2 separate regions of the Homo sapiens genome follow, and region 2 is linked to region 1. Evidence: promoter capture Hi-C in human tissues and cell types (Jung and others, 2019). All regions are on one chromosome and are shown on one strand. Each heading gives the region's core, a stretch centred on a gene start or on the middle of the fragment in contact. The rest is flanking DNA. Distances are from core to core; before and after follow the strand shown.

The links. Contacts are between HindIII fragments. The study calls those that stand out against the background at their distance.
Region 2: a fragment that was not itself captured here is called in contact with the fragment with the promoter of DPEP1 in region 1 in 6 of the 25 tissues and cell types used here (heart right ventricle, lymphoblastoid cells, mesenchymal stem cells and 3 more).

What each region holds. Positions count from the first base shown.
Region 1 is chr16:89,610,278-89,617,154 of GRCh38, forward strand. DPEP1 (dipeptidase 1) reads left to right here and starts at 3,365. Exons shown (of 11, transcript NM_001389466.1): 1 at 3,365-3,442. RefSeq lists a silencer at 2,965-3,123 and enhancers at 4,529-5,233, 5,234-5,936. The HindIII fragment of the contact is 39,869 bases long and covers 1-6,877 here.
Region 2 is chr16:89,688,537-89,692,320 of GRCh38, forward strand. CDK10 (cyclin dependent kinase 10) reads left to right here. Exons shown (of 13, transcript NM_052988.5): 2 at 716-788; 3 at 2,017-2,088; 4 at 2,907-3,009; 5 at 3,270-3,351. Among named protein-coding and RNA genes, the nearest start is that of LINC02166, 3.5 kb to the left of the region's middle. The HindIII fragment of the contact is 5,257 bases long and covers 1-3,784 here.

The DNA.
Region 1 (6,877 bases), core at 2,115-4,614:
AGTTTCAAAGGATTTGTTCTACCACCTTGTTAAAAGGGAGATGTTAAACTAATTCAGTTTATTTGATATATTCAATTACATGGGAAGCATTGTCAAAAGACACTTAACTTTCCATACATTATATTTATATAGTTAAAATGTTGCTATTTCAGAAATTATATAAATGTCCTAAAAATTTGTCAATGCCCTTGTTATCCGATCTGTTCGCCTCTGTTACTGTTCATGATTTCAGTTGTTATTTAATACGTCGTGTGTCACAAAAACAACCAGAATTCATTGTGTGTTGTTTTTATAATGAACTCTCATCAGATCTTTCATTATTTTCAGGTTCTTTTTTTTTTTTTTTTTTTGAGATGGAGACTCGCTCTGTCGCCCAGGCTGGAGTGCAGAGGCACGATCTCGGCTCACTGCAACCTTCACCTCCTGGGTTCAAGCGATTCTCCTGCCTCAGCCTCCCGAGTAGCTGGGACTACAGGCGCCCGTCACCACGCCCGGCTATTTTTTGTATTTTTAGTAGAGACAGGGTTTCACCATGTTGGCCAGGCTGGTCTTGAACTGCTGACCTTAGGTGATCCACCCGCCTCGGCCTCCCAAAGTGCTGGTATTACAGGCGTGAGCCACCGTGCCTGGCCCATAATTTTTTTTATTTTTATGTATTTGTTTATTTTGAGACAGAGACTCACTCTGTTGCCAAGGCTGGAGGGCAGTGGCACGATCTCAGCTCACTGCAACCTACACCTCCTGGGTTCAAACACTTCTCCTGCCTCAGCTTCCTAAGTAGATGGGACTGCAGGCGCATGTCACCACGTCTGGCTAAATTTTGCATTTTTAGTAGAGATGGGGTTTCACCACGTTGCCCAGGCTGGTTTCAAACTCCCGACTTCAAGTGATCCGCCCACCTCGGCCTCCCAAAGTGCTGGGATCACAGGCATGAGCCACCGTGCCTGGATAACTGTACTTATATTTTTATAGAAGCTTTATTGAGACAATTCACACACCATAAAATCCATCCCTTTAGTGTGCACAATTGAATGTTTTTAGAATATTCAGAGTCGCACAGCCATCACTACTATTTAATTCCAGATTTTTAATTTAAAAATTTTCATTGCCCTCGCAGGGCACAGGGGCTCACGCCTGTAATCCCAGCACTTTGGTGTTGTAACCAAGCGAGTTATAGAGAAACACCACACTTTGAGACAAATTAAGGAGTCCTTTATTAGCCTGCGACCGAGAGGCCGCTAATGCTCAAAATTCTCTCGGCCCTGAGGAAGGGGCTAGCTTTGTTTGTATACCGTGGTCTAAATGGGGGGGGGGAGTTTAACTGAAGCAATTTTTATAGAAGCAGAACTGGCAAAAAGTTAAAAAATTAATTGGTTACAAATGCAGTTACAAAAAATAAACAGCTCCAGGTGCAGGGGCTTAAACTATCACAAAGAGATAAATGCAGGGGCTTCGGGTGCCATCCACCGAGCGCGTCCCGAGGAGCTGCTGGTGCAGCTTGCCTCAGTATCTTATCAGTAGGTGCATTCCCAGACGTGCTTTGAGTCAGTCACACTAGTTAAGCCTTAAGGGAGGGAGGTGAAGGGGGCTGCAGGTGAAGAAACTAAAATGGAGTCTGTCCGGCGCTCTCTCTGCTACGAGAAGGTCACTTAGGTTAAAACAAGGTTGGGTATCACACTGGGAGGCCGAGGCGGGCGGATCACGAGGTCAGGAGATCGAGACCATCCTGGCTAACACGGTGAAACCCCGTCTCTACTAAAAAAGAAATACAAAAAATTAGCCGGGCGTGGTGGCGGGCGCCTGTAGTCCCAGCTACTCGGGAGGCTGAGGCAGGAGAATGGCGTGAAGCCAGGAGGTGGAGGTTGCAGCGAGCTGAGATCGCGCCACTGCACTCCAGCCTGGGCGACAGAGCAAGACTCTGTCTCAAAAAAAAAAAAAAAAAAGTCATTGCCCCAAATAGAAACCCATTCCCATTAGCACCCACTCCCCACTTTCCTTCACAGCCTCAACAACCATGAATCCACCTTCTGTGTCTATGGAGTCACTTATTCTGGACATTTCATATAAGTGGAATCACACGACATGTGGTCTTTTGAGTCTAGCTTCTTTCTTTCTTTTCTGAGACAGGCTCCCACTCTGCGGCCCAGGCTGAAGTGCAATGGCGTGATCGCAGCTCACTGTAACCTCAGTCTCCCAGGCTCAGGCGCTCCTCCTGCCTCAGCCTCACAGCAGAGACCACAGGTGCGCACCACCACACCCGACTATCTGGCTTCTGCCACTTAGCGAAATGTTTCTGAGGTTCTTCATGTTATAGCACGTGTCAGCACGTCACTCTTCTTCATGGCTGAGTAATACTCCACTGCGTGAAGAGACACATTTATCTGTCCCCGTGTTGGGCATCTGCACTCTTCCCACATTTTGGCTATACTAAATTGTCCTGCTACGAACACCTGTGTAGTTTCTGTGTAAAGGTACAGTACCTATATGTTGGGGTGATCAGACCCAACCCCAGGTCGTGGGGGTGACAAAGTCCGGCGGAGTCAAAGGATTCAGAAAAACACAGAGAGAGAAAGGTGGCACACCAGGGGGCCATCGCTATTGTGGAGGCTGCAAAAGCCCGAGCTCTGGGAGCCCACGGTATTTATTGGTAATGCAACAAAGAAACAGATGGTGAGAATATGGAGGTCAAAAGACCACGTTGCATTAAGCACATGATTACAGCTGTGCCGGTTTAGCATTTATATGGAGCATGTTCTGCTACTTGAGATAATGGGAATAGGGGCCTAGGAGGGCTAGAAGGAAGGAGCCAGCAAGTCTAGACACATTCCAAAGGACATCATGCAAGCCCTGCCTCAGTTTCCCTCCCAACACCTATATGTCTTGTTGGTATACATGTTGTATTTTCACAACGAAAATGCATGAGAAAAAGGACACAGATGGCTTATGTGTACTGATGTGTAGCATTCTCTAAGATCTGACATCACAGAGCTGGACAGCACAGCTGTGCACGCACCCCCCTGGCTGGGAGGTGGCACATCCACACATGAGGGAAAAACACTGCCAGGACATCTCAGGGCACTCTCAGGAAATGAGGAAGCTGCTGGAGAAGTTTCTAGCCTTGGGGGAGGTCAGGACGCAGAGCCATCTCCTGGAGCAAAGTTCCCTCCTCCTCTCTCCCTCCTCCTCTCTCCCTCCTGCAGCCCTTCCTTCCGACCCCTGGCCCTTTCTCTCCAACCTTCCCCTCCCCTCCTCCATTTCCCTCCTCTTTCTACTTTCAGAGAACACAGGGTTCCTGCAGGAAATGGGGCAGTTTCACCTTCCTGAGGAGGGGCCTGGGAGGGGCAGCAGGTGGCCGGGTAGGGCCAGCCCAGCTGTGAGCCTGGCGTGGGAGCTGCCTAGGCCGGGCCCTGCCAGGGAGCAAGTCTGCATCGCAGAGGCCAGGGTGAGTGGGCTGGGGAGTCGGTGCGCCAGGGTACTGGGGTGCCCACCTGGGGTGGTGCAGGCCCGGGGACCCCAGGGCACCACTGTGGGTGGAAGCTGGGACCAGGCGTGCGGGGCAGGGGACGCGGCGGCTTCCTGGGATTCTAGGAGGCTGAGGCCAGGTGTGTGCGGCAGGGGACGGGGCGGCTTCCTGGGATTCTAGGAGGCTGGGACCAGGTGTGTGGGGCAGGGGACGAGGCAGCTTCCTGGGATTCTAGGAGGCTGGCACCAGGTGTGTGGGGCAGGGGACGCGGCTGCTTCCTGGGATTCTAGGAAACTGGGGCCAGGTGTGTGGGGCAGGGGACGCGGCTGCTTCCTGGGATTCTAGGAAACTGGGGCCAGGTGTGTGGGGCAGGGGACGCGGCGGCTTCCTGGGACTCAAGGAGGTGGGAGAGCTGCTCTCAGACCCGCCGCTGTCCTCCCACTGGCCCTCCCCGTGGTCCCTAGGATGAGGTCTGGACCCGCCAGGCCCTCCAGAGGCCCCACAACCCCGCTTGTCCACTGTGCCGGCTGTTCCTTCCTTGTGGCGCCCAGTGCGGTCCTAGGCACCCTTGGGACTCAGCTCACGTACCCCTTCCTCCAGGAAGAGTTCTCAGAGGCTGTGTGAGGAGCGCCGAGTCCCCGGACTTACTCTCTGTTCTGGAATTCTCTGCGCAGTCATCTGCCTTCCCGCCCAGCTAAGAGCAGGGCCTGTTGTCCGGCCCCACAATTTCCTTCCAGGTGGAAAGGATTTGCTGAATGAAAATCAAAGCTGTGGCCGGGCGCGGTGGCTCACGCCTGTAATCCCCACACTGTGGGAGGCCGAGGTGGGCAGATCATGAGGTCAGGAGATCGAGACCATCCTGGCTAACACGGTGAAACCCCGTCTCTAATAAAAAATACAAAAAATTAGCCGGGCGTGGTGGCGGGCGCCTGTAGTCCCAGCTACTCGGGAGGCTGAAGCAGGAGAATGGCGTGAACCCGGGAGGCGGAGGTTGCGGTGAGCTGAGATCGTGCCACTGCACTCCAGCCTGAGTGACAGAGCGAGACTCCGTATCCAAAAAAATAAAAGAAAAATCTTCTCCCCGGGTAGGGTGCGGGGAGCTTCAGGGTTATCACAGGACATGCTAGAGAGAAAGCCTTGGGCACAGGCGGAAGTTGGAGTCTGGAGCTGCGGCTGGGCTAGCGAAGGGCAGAACCTACTTCGGCCAATGGCTCTTACACAGCCAAGCTATTTTCATGGTGAGGGTCTAGTAGCCTCCACATCTCTTGGCGAATTCTTGCTGATTGGCGTCTGACCCCATGGAGAAGCTCAGTGGGTGTCATGGGTGGAAGGGGGCATCTAGGGCCTCCAAACGTGGAAGTGTCTCTAAAATACCTCCCGCTGGGCCTCAGTCTCCTTGTCGACAAAAGGTCAGCTTTGACAAATCTCCAGTCGGAGGCCAGGAGCAGACGGGGAGGGTCCCTCAGTCCCTGCTTGCAGCTTCAGGGGGACGTAGGCTGCGGTGGACGGACACTGAGCCCCAAAGCGGCCTCTCAGAGCCGCCCCTGAGGGGTGGCCTCACAGGTCGGGCTGAGGCTCCCAGCTCCCACTGGGTACAGAGCGGGCAGGCGGGCCTGGCAGGGCAGTGGTGCTGGTCTACACGCAGCTCTGGAGTCTCTGGACCTGTGTCCTGTGCGTACATCCTGGCTCCATCTCCCATGAGCCAGGGGGCTGGACCTGTCTTCTCTACCTCAGTTTCCAAGAGTAGGAGACAGGGGTAACAGCAGCCTTGCTCTCAGGGGTGAGGGCGTGGGTTAAAGGGCAGGACACCCATGGAAGCAGTGGTGGCTCCGAGCACCTGCTCAGCCTTCCCAGGTCTTCAGAGCCCACAGGCAGAGCCCACCCTGAGGGAGGAGCAGCTGGTTCTTGGGTGAAGTGAGCCCCCAGGACCCCGCCTTGCAGGACCCCGCGAGGCCCCGGTGAACTGGAGCCGGGAACCGGCCCCACGGAGGCACGTTGGGATTTGGCCACCAGAGGGCAGGAGCTGCAGCAGCCAGGCAGGCGGTCAACACGGGGGCCCCGGGGTCCTGGCCGGCTGGTGGGGTGTGAATTGGAGAGGAGTGGGCTGTGTGGAGGGAGACCAAGCACCAAGGCCCGCCCTGGCCTCTGAGTGTCCACCCCTTTCACAGGCCCATTTCACAGATACTGAGGCCCAAAGGCGCAGGGCTCAGGCGTCCCCTACGTGTCGTGTCCCCAGGCAGGAGAATTACTTGAACCTGGGAGGCAGAGGTTTCAGTGAGCTGAGATCACACCACTGCACTCCAGCCTGGGTGACAGAGCAAGACTTCATCTCAAAAAAAAAACACAAAAAGTGAATTTAAAATGCTCCCTGAACTCCAGCTGGGGTGCGCAGCAGGAGGCTGGGTCCGTGGGGCTTCGGGGGCTGGGCTGGGGGTTCAGGTGGGTGGGGGAGTCAGTGCTGTGGGGATAGGGCTCAGAGCCCAGAAACAGACAAGCCCACACAGGTAGCCAGTGTCGACGAAACAGGAGAGGCTGGGACCTGTGCCCTGGAAGGACACAGCCAGCGGGTCCTGGGTCACCCACTCCGGGGCTGACCGGGCACAGTTTCACAGAGCAGTATGGCCCAGCCAGCTGTGAGAGGATCGGACAGACGGGCGGAAAGGAGGGGAGACAGCGGGTGTGCTCGGGGCTGTGCCGGGAGGGGTCCTTGGATGGAGGAGGGGGTCGCCAGGAGGCATCTGCATCCCCGGGGTGGTGAAGACCCAGCGTGTATGGCCGACCTCGAGGACAGGGCGATTGCTCCACCAGAATGTTCCCAGATGGCACAGATGCTTCTGGTTCTGGCACTGGGACCTGCAGCAGGATTCCCGGGTGGCTTAAAGAGGTTCCTTGAAGTTTGTGATCAGGAATTCAAAGTAGCGCAGATTGGGACGGCTGGGCCTTCTCCCCTCAGCACACTCCGCGAAGGGCAGTGCAAACGCACGCTGGCAGGAAGTGGCTGGGAAGCAGGCAGAGAGCGACCAGGAAGCGGCCAGGAAGCAGGCAGGAAGTGGGCAGGAAGCAGGCAGAAAGCGGCCAGGAAGTGGCCAGGAAGCGGACAGGAAGTGGCCAGGAAGCAGGCAGGAAGTGGGCAGGAAGCGGCCGGGAAGCAGGCAGAGAGCGGCCAGGAAGCGGGTAGGAAGCGGGCAGGTTTTACCGAGCGGCGTGACGGCTCCAGAGGGGATGATGGAGTCTGGCAGAGAATGGGGCGGGAGGCTGGAGGTCCTGGGCAGGCCCTGGAGCAGAAGGGGAAGGGAGGGGTGGGGTGATGGGACTGCAGTGAAGGTCTGGCCCCACCCGAGCAAGGTGAGGGTAGCACAGGTCATTACATGTCAGGGAATTGCTTGGCCAGGGTTGGGGACAATTCTCTCTTAT
Region 2 (3,784 bases), core at 44-2,543, 76 kb after region 1:
CATTTTTTCTTCCCGTCACTGAGGTGAGAAGAGGTGAAAGCTTCCTTTCACCTGGAAGTCACACGGTCCCTTCAGCTCACATTCCAAGGCCAGATGCCACTGGGTAGCGTTTCATAACTTCCAGGAGGTAGTGATACAGGGATGCTGGGACAGCAGCCTCTGCCACAGATGTATTTTTGTATGTGGGATTGAAAGGGAGTATCTGAGTGGCCGCCTCTGATATTTCTTTCAAAGCATTGGCCCAGTATCGTCACCACCTTTTCTCATCAGAAAAGCCCAAGAGGCCGGGTACGGTGGCTCACGCTTGTAATCCCAGCACTTTGGGAGGCCAAGGCGGGCAGATCACTTGAGGTCAGGAGCTCAAGACCAGCCTGGCCAACATGGTGAAACCCAGTCTCTACTAAAAATAGAAAATTAGGCGGTTGTGGTGGCACCTGCCTGTAATCCCAGCTACTCAGGAGGCTGAGGCCGGAGAATCACTTGAACCCAGGAGGCGGAGGTTGCAGTGAACCATGTTCTTGCCACTGCACTCCAGCCTGGGCAACAGAGCGAGACTCAGTCTCAAAAAAAGAAAAAAAAAGCCCAAACGTGTGGTTGCCTTTCTGTTTGGTGAGCAAGACGTGAGTGGGCTCCCTGGTACAAATTCCATTTGAAATTTCCTCAGTTGTTCCATCAGCTGCCAAATTTCCACACTGGCAACACCCTTCTGTTTCAGCTGGGACGATGCCGGAGTGTGAAGGAGTTTGAGAAGCTGAACCGCATTGGAGAGGGTACCTACGGCATTGTGTGTGAGTGGCCAAGGCTAGGACATGTGGCCGCAGCTCGTGGCTGTGACAGTGTGGGACGAGACTGTCGAAGCAGCAGCCGCGTTGGGGCTGGAAGGGACTCAGACCCTGTGCTCTGAAACAGGGCAGAAACCTGTTCAGGAACTTCAATTCCTGATGTAGTTATCACAAACATTGTACCATTTCTGGGTAAACGTAAGCATCCGGTTGCTAATGCCCATAATCCAAACGTGTCACTGCAGAGTACACAGAACTGTTAGAGAAATAAAATACAGAACTTTCCAGAAGCAGCAGGAGCTGGACATGGTGCTCATGTCTATCACCTCAGCAACTCTGGAGGAGTCACCTGAGCCCAGGTGTTTTTTCTTTTTGTTTGTTTTTGAGATGGGTCTTGCTCTATTGCCCAGACTGGAGTGCAGTGGCATGATCATAGCTCACTGCGGCCTCGACCTCCTAGGCTCAAGTGATCCTCCCACCTCAGCCTCCTGAGTATCTGGGACCACAAGAGTACATAAGCACACCCAGCTAATTTTTAAATTTTTGGTAGAGATGGGATCTCCCTATGTTGCCCAGGCTGGTCTTGAACTTCTGGGCTCAAATGATCCTCCTGCCTCGGCCTCCCAAAGCACTGGGATTACAGGTGTGAGCCACTGCACCCGGCCAAGCCTAGGAGTTTGAGGCTGCAGTGAGCTGTGATCACGCCACTGCACCCCAGCCTTGGCAACAGAGTGAGACCCTGTCTCAAAAAAACCAAAAACACCACACACAACTAAAGGTTATAACAGATGTGAAATTGGCGTAGGTCATTCTGGAAGCTGCACACATTAGCAGGATGTTTTGTAGAGCCATCTTCACACAAAATAAGGTTTGCTTTTTTCTGCATAGAGTACCTTATTTGCTTTTAGGACATTACAAGAGAGCACAAAGCAGTGATCTGCATGCTAAGGAGGACATGGAGAGCCTGGAGCCACAGAACTGAGTGGCTGGAGGCCAGGGTCCAGCACAGAGCAAAGTTGGGCACCCCCTGCCCAGTTCAAATGAGGAAACCCTCCGGGGGAACGCGTCTCGGGCTAGGGGCGTTGCACAGAGTGGGGACTGAGTGTCACTGGGCATGAGGTTGTCAGAGGAAAGAACGGGGACCCCTGTGGCTCAGGGAGAGCCTCCCGTTCAGCGCTAGGGAGCCCACGAGGGGCATCGAGATGATGTCATCACCAATGTGTTTCCATTCCAGATCGGGCCCGGGACACCCAGACAGATGAGATTGTCGCACTGAAGAAGGTGCGGATGGACAAGGAGAAGGATGGTGAGCAGGAAATTGGGGTGTTGGGACCTCGCACTGGGAGGAGGCAGAAGGATGTGAGTTACCTGAAGTTTCCTCAGAGCGACTGCACGGTGCTTGTAGCGGGGGCCGGCCTCTGGGAGGGTTCTGGTGTGGCCCAGCACATCACCCCCAGGTCCACACGCAGCCTCAGCTGTCTGCCAGGAGGGCTCTGCAGTCTCCATCCCCTCCTCCCCCTCCTGTCTGGTGAGGCCACCTCACTGCAGGCTCAGCTCTGCTGTCCCCTCCACCCCCAGCACCTGCCTGTGCAGGCAGGGCCCTGCCATGCCCCACATAGATGTCCACGGTGTTTAGAGAGGTGCCGATTCGTATTTGGTCAAGGAAGAGTTAAAAGTGCTTATTGGGCCGGGCATGGTGGCTCATGCCTGTAATCCCAGCACTTTGGGAGGCCGAGGCAGGCGGATCACCTGAGGTCGGCAGTTCAAGACCAGCCTGACCAACATGGAGAAACCCCATCTCTACTAAAAATACAAAATTAGCCAGGCGTGGTGGCACATGCCTGTAATCCCAGCTACTAGGGAGGCTGAGGCAGGAGAATTGCTTGAACCCGGGAGGCAGAGGTTGCGGTGAGCCGAGATGGTGCCATTGCACTCCAGCCTGGGCAACGAGCGAAACTCCGTCTCAAAAAAAAAAAAATGCTTATTGGGGTCGCCCCAATTCTCCCTGAGGTGGGGACACTGCAGCACCTGCTATCAGGTGTTCGTGAAGCCCAAGAGTGGCTGGGGTTGGGGCTTCCCCGCCATCACTGGGGTGGGGCTCGCTGAGGCCACCTCCCTCCCCAGGCATCCCCATCAGCAGCTTGCGGGAGATCACGCTGCTGCTCCGCCTGCGTCATCCGAACATCGTGGAGCTGAAGGAGGTGGTTGTGGGGAACCACCTGGAGAGGTACGTGGTCTCCTGGTCTGCACATTGGGCCCTAGGGAGCATGTGTCTTGGGCTAGAGGTGTTGCACAGAGCGAGGACTGAGTGTCACTGGGCATGAGGTTGTCAGAGAAGAGATGACCCCACCTCACCGCCTGGCTCAGCCCATTGTCTGAGGGGGACACAGGTTGTCCTGCCCATGTCCCCTCCTGCAGCAGGGGAGGCTCCACTTCCACCCCTTAGGAGAAGGCCGGAGAGTGGCATGCATCTTCTGTTTCTTCCAGCATCTTCCTGGTGATGGGTTACTGTGAGCAGGACCTGGCCAGCCTCCTGGAGAATATGCCAACACCCTTCTCGGAGGCTCAGGTGCGTGGCAGAGGGGCCTGGGGTGGGGGAATGGGCTTCATGGGCCCTTGTGGTGCACATTTATAACGAAACAGGGCACTTGGGGACTTGAAGAGCTGCTGCTGCCTCTGCCTCCACCTCCCAGTGTTTCAGCGAGCTTCAGTGAGGTGGAATTCCTGTGGTGGGGGCATCTGCTGGGAGCGGGCAGCCCCAGGGCCGAGAGCCTTATGAGGGCACTGGTTTCCTGGGCTGTTGGGAGCAGGCAGCCCCGGGGCTGAGAGCCTTCTGAGGGCACTGGTTTCCTGGGCTGCTGGGAGCGGGGAGCCCTGGGCGGAGAGCCTTCTGAGGGCACTGGTTTTCTGGGCTGCTGGGAGAGTGCAGCCCCGGGGCCAAGAGCCTTGTGAGGGCACTGGTTTCCTGGGCTGCTGGGAGCGTGCAGCCCCGGGGCCGAGAG